Regions from separate parts of the Homo sapiens genome. Here region 1 is linked to region 2. Evidence: promoter capture Hi-C in 16 types of primary human blood cells and fetal thymus (Javierre and others, 2016). All regions are on one chromosome and are shown on one strand. Each heading gives the region's core, a stretch centred on a gene start or on the middle of the fragment in contact. The rest is flanking DNA. Distances are from core to core; before and after follow the strand shown. Region 1 has its middle 20 kb from the start of MAD2L1. Region 2 holds the start of SEC24D (SEC24 homolog D, COPII component).

Region 1 (2,700 bases), core at 8-2,507, 1.2 Mb before region 2:
TATTGACGCCCTCACCTCTCTCTCTCCCTGCCATGTAAAAATATAGTTAAAAAGTGGCTGTCTACAAGCCAGAAAGAGAGCCCCTACCAGAAACTGAAAATGCCAGCACCTTGATCTTGGACTTTAAACCTCCTGTGAGAAATAATTTTTTTCTGTGAGAAATAAACTTTTGTTGTTTAAGTAACCCAGTCTATGGGATTTGGTTATGGTGGCTTGAGCTGACTGAGACACAGACTCTGTCACTGTTATTCTATTAAGAGCTCATCTATCAAATTAAAATAAATAACAAGAATAATTTTTATTGGCTTTTTTCTCATTTTTTTCTAGTTTTTTAAATTGTTTTTTACATAACATAAATTTGCCATCATATTATTTTAAGTGTACAATCAGTAGTATTAAATACATTCATAATGTTGGGCAACCATCACCACCATCCATCTCCATAACCTTTTTCATCTTGTAAAATGGAAATGCTATTACCATTAAACAATAACCCCTCATTCTCCCCTCCCTCCAGCCCCTGGTAACCACCATGCTTCTTTTTGTAATCATAATTTTGTCTGATAGATATAGCTGATTCATGTGTTGTTTAAGTTCACTATTTCCTACCTATTTTTTGTCTGGTTGTCCTATTCATTATTGACAGTGGGATATTAAAATCTCCAACTATTATTGTAGAACTGATTATTTATCCATGCAATTTTCAGTTTTTGCTTTATGTATTTTAATTGACTGTTTTTAGATGCATGCATGTTTATACTTGTTATAACTTCTGCTGGGTTGAACCCTCTAAGTGTGCAATGTCCTTCTTTGTCTCCTCCTTTGTCTCTTGTTCTTGTCTTTTCTGATTTAAAGCTTTTTTAAAAAAATATTTGTATAGCCATCTCTTCTCGCTTCTGGTTACTGTTTGCATGGAACATCTTTTTTTCATTCTTTCACATTCCATCTATTTGTGCCTTTGGATCTAAAGTGAATCTCAATGTCAGGCGCAGTAGTATATGCCTGTAGTGATAGCAACCCGGGAGGCTGAAGCAGGAGGACCATTTGAGCCCAGGAGTTCGAGTCCAGCCTGGGCAACATAGTGAGATCCCATATCTCATAAAAAATTTCAAAATTAAAAAAAAATAAAGTGAGCCTCCTGCACGTAACATATATTTGGATTATGGTTTTTAATCCATTTGGCCAATCCTTTAATTGGAGTGTTTAATGCATTTACATTTAAAGTAATTACTAACAACAAAGGGACTTCTAACAGTTTGCTACTTGTTTTCTATATGGTTTGTAGTTTTTTGTCAATAATTTTCTGCATTACTGTCTTCTTTTGTGTTCACTTGATATTTTATATTAAAACGTTTACATTTCTTTCTCATTTCCATTTTTACATATTTTATAGCGATTTTTCTTTGTGGCTACCATGGGGATTACATCTGACATCCTAAAGTTATGCCAATCTAATTGGAATTTTTACCAGCTTCACCTCAATAACATCCACCTCTGTGCTCCCTTACAGGTTCGTCCCTACTCCTTTTGGTTGATGTCTTAAAATCATATTTGTATACACTGTGTGCCCCAAAACATAAACTAATACAGGCATACCTTGTTTTGTTGTGCGTTTTATCACACACACAGATACTGCATTTTTCACAAATCAAAGCTTTGTGGGAACCCTGCATAGAGCAAATCTATCAGTGTTTTTTTTACTAACGACACACAGTCACTTTGTGTCTCTGTCACATTTTGGCAATTCTCACAATATTTCACACTTCTTCATTATGATGATATTCATTTTTGTGATCAGTGATCTCTGATGTTACTATTGTGATTATTTTGGTGTCCTGTGAACTTAAGATGAACTTAATCACCTCTAAGTGTTCAAGTGAAAGTGTTGCATGTCTTTCACTTTAAATCAAAAGGTACAAATGATTAAGTTTAGTGAGGAAAGCATGTCAAAAGCCAGGAAGACTGAAGAGTCTTGCAACAGTTAGCCAAGTTGTGAATGCGGAGTAAAGATTCTTAAAGGACAGTAAAAGTGCTAATCTAGTGAACACATGAATGATAAGAAAGCGAAACAGCCTTATTCCAATATGGAGAAAGTTCTAGTGGTCTGGATGGAAGATCAAACCAGCCACAGCATTCCCTTAAGCCAAAGCCTATTCCAGAGCAAGGCCTAACTCTCTTCAATTCTCTTAAACCTGAGAGAGGTGAAGAAGCTGAAGAAAAGAAGTTGGAAGCTAGCAGAGGTTGGTTGATGAGGTTAAAGTGAAGAAGCATCTCCATAACATGAAAGGGCAACATGAAGCAGCAAATGCTGGTGTAAATAAAAGCTGCATCAAGTGATCCTGAAGATCTAAATGAGATCACTGAAGATGGTGGCCACACTAAACAACAAATTCTTCAATGTAGATCAAACAGCCTTTATATTGTAAGAACATGCCATCTAGGACTTTCATAGCTAGAGAGTAGAAGTCAATGCCTGGCTTCCAATCTTCACAGGACAAGCTGACTTTCTTGTTAGGGTTTGATGCAGCTGGTGGCTTTAAGTTGAAGCCAATGCTCATTTACCATTCAGAACATCCTAGGGCCCTCAAGAATGATGCCAAATCTACTCTGCGCACTAGAAATGGAACAACAAAGTCTGAATGTCAGCACATCTGTTTATAGCATGGCATTTTAAGCCCACTGCTGAGAACTAATGCTCGG
Region 2 (2,700 bases), core at 46-2,545:
GATATCTTACCTTAAAATCTTTTTTTCTTTTTCTTGAGACAGGGTCTCACTCTGTTGCCCACGCTGGAACGCAGTGGTGTGATCATAGCTCACTGCCTCCTGGCCTCAAGCAATCCTCCCTGCTTGGCCTCCCAAAGTGCTGGGATAACAGGTGTGAGCCACTGTGCCTTGCCCCATGCCTTAAAAACTTTTAAGAGTGGGATAAATGGACCATATATCTTTACTGCTAAAATGACTTAAAATTCCTGCACAATTCATGTAGCATTTCGGGAGTAGCAACATCCCCATGTACGTTTTTACCTAGGCAGTTCATCAGTAAAGGTATTTGTCAAGTGGCTTTCTTGTAGCCGGGAAGAAAGTGCATGTTAAAAACAACAACACCGGGCTGGTTTTTACTTTGTAAGTTTGAGCAAAGTGGTAGCTATACCAAACCTGGGAGTGGCTGAATGTCTTTCTATTTAGCAGTGAAAGATGATAGGAAACCAGCCAGATGGTCCTGATTTTAGGGTGAGATAGAGAGGTAAGCTCCAGATCTCATATAGGTTGCCTTTATTTCTGAGCTGTTTCTCACAGGACGGTGAGCTAAACGCTGGGTGCTTTTCCATGCAGAGATTCCTGTTTGGGGCTGGGATCAGCCATCCTACTTCACAAACAAGGAATATGCGGAAGAAGGAGTATACACAACGCTAACAACCCCAATATCAATGGAAACCCCACTTCCCACACTTTTCCTTTGGGACATCTCCCCCACCCCCCACTCCTCCCGCGTTACACGTTGCCAGGCTGCTTTGGGCGTTCCTTCCTCTGTAGTGCATTGCACGGGTACGTCATCAAATGTGCGTGTACACGTGCCAGATTCGCCTTTAAACGGTAATCTCCCCTAGGTCCAGATCGTGTACTTTCCCGTATGTAACGGTAGTGCAGTACCTGAACTATTAGTTATTTAAGTAATACGTAATGAATGAAGAGCTGAAACTGCAACCTGTTGATGGAAGAATGAATGAACGCGCTCCCCTCCTTCCTGCGGGGCTGCGCCGAGAAAATACGGTTCTGATTTAGCCACGACGTTAAAGGCTTTGACCTGTAGGGGGAGGGGAAAGAAAAGACGGGAAAAAGAAAACCAAAAAACAAAAAACCGGAAAAAGGGAAAAAGCGAAAAGGGGGAGGTCGCTCGGCCGCTCGCAGGCTCAGCCCGGTGGCCCCGCCCCGCGGCGGCCGGTGGCTGTGCGCGTGCGCAGGCGGGAGCGCGGCGGCTGGTCCAAGCCCGGCGCTGGGGGCGCGCAGCCGAGAAAGGGTTTGACGTGGCAGTTCCCAGCCCAGCTGCAACTCCGAGCGTGAGTCCAGGCTAAGGGGACGCCGGCCGGGGAAGAGGCGCGGCGGGAGAAGCGACCGCAGCGGGAGCCCGGCCACCGAGGGCTGCCGGCACTAGGCGCAGAGCCGCCAGCGCTCGGAAGCCCGCGGGGTGCGGGAGCGGGAACAGGTAAAGCCTCCCACCCGCGGACGCCTTCATGCGGGACAGCCCTGCCCAGGCACAGCGGAGCGGGTTGCGGCGCCCGGCCCGGGGACGCGGCGGGAGGCCGGGTGCTCACCTGAGGCAGTGGCGGCGGGAGGAGAACTCATTCTTTGTTCTTTAGCCTTCTAGTGCAGTTTAATAGTGGGGCCGGCGGGATGGGGGAGCAGGAGGTGGGCGTGGGCATTTTTTACCCGCCCCCACCTTTTGCCTTGGGATGCAGGAACTGCCTTGTTAGGATCCTCAGTGGCCACCATTCGAGTGTCATTGCCAGCGGTTTTCTCATCTCCTTATCAACTTAATTTCCTTTTTTGAAGGAAGGAAATGTTAGAAATATTCATGGTAAAAATGGCAACTATATCTTGAAGCCTCGGGACATCCGAATAGTGAAACTGATCTGGCCAAATACGAACTTGTTCCAGGGTTAGAAGTGCACCTTGGCTAGAGTTGCTGGGTGACAGTGAGCCAGGGGGCCGTTCTGGGGTTGGGGCTCCCCAGATTTTGATCCTAGGCCTGCTTATACCAAGTGGCTTTCTGCCGTGTCGCCGCTTGAAGCTGAGTCAGGTTTCTTTAACTTGGTGCTCTGTGTGAGGAAGTTTGACGTGGCAAACTGGGTTGCGTGAGGAAGCTGATTCCTCTGAGGACCAGTTCAGAGGGAACTGGCTGCTTCCTGTTCTTTGGAGTGACCATCTCAGCCTCTCTTTTCTGTCACTCAGCAACAGGCTGCTACTTAGGTGTGTTCGTGCCGACTTCCTAAGTGCTCTTGGTTGGATGAGCTTGACCAGCGCTCAGGCTGCCACGTCTCTCTCTGCTAAGTGGGAGGAGGAAAAAGGGGTTGTCAGAAACAAAGTGGACCAGAAGGCCTTTGCCTGCCTCTCTCCTCTTTTTCAGTTCTCCCCTTCCCAGGAGAAGGAAATGATCTCATAATATTTTTACATGGTTGCTTTTATTTTGGAAACTTATAGTTTAATATGGAAACAAAATCAAATCACAAATTTTAGGCTTCAAATTTTTAATTTGAAATGTTATTTCTTGAATATAGACAGATTCTAAGTCTTAGCAGGTATCACTGATCTCTTATCTTAAATTGTAGCAAATAAAAGAACAAAAGGAAGAATATGCTTGTATGGGGCAAATAAACTGGAGATAAATTGTAGAATCAGTGGAAATCTGGAAAGGCTTCATTTTCT

The links. The method cuts DNA at HindIII sites, captures the fragments that hold promoters and counts their contacts. A CHiCAGO score of 5 or more calls a contact.
Region 1: a fragment that was not itself captured here is called in contact with the fragment with the promoter of SEC24D in region 2 in 5 of 17 cell types (neutrophils, activated CD4 T cells, naive B cells and 2 more); the score reaches 8.9 in neutrophils.

Annotation. Positions count from the first base shown.
Region 1 is chr4:120,045,931-120,048,630 of GRCh38, reverse strand. No RefSeq gene overlaps it. Among named protein-coding and RNA genes, the nearest start is that of MAD2L1, 20 kb to the left of the region's middle. The HindIII fragment of the contact is 799 bases long and covers 858-1,656 here.
Region 2 is chr4:118,834,721-118,837,420 of GRCh38, reverse strand. It overlaps SEC24D (SEC24 homolog D, COPII component), which reads left to right and starts at 1,295. Exons shown (of 23, transcript NM_014822.4): 1 at 1,295-1,480. RefSeq lists enhancers at 1,133-1,427, 1,048-1,939 and a silencer at 1,132-1,621. The HindIII fragment of the contact is 6,235 bases long and covers 1-2,700 here.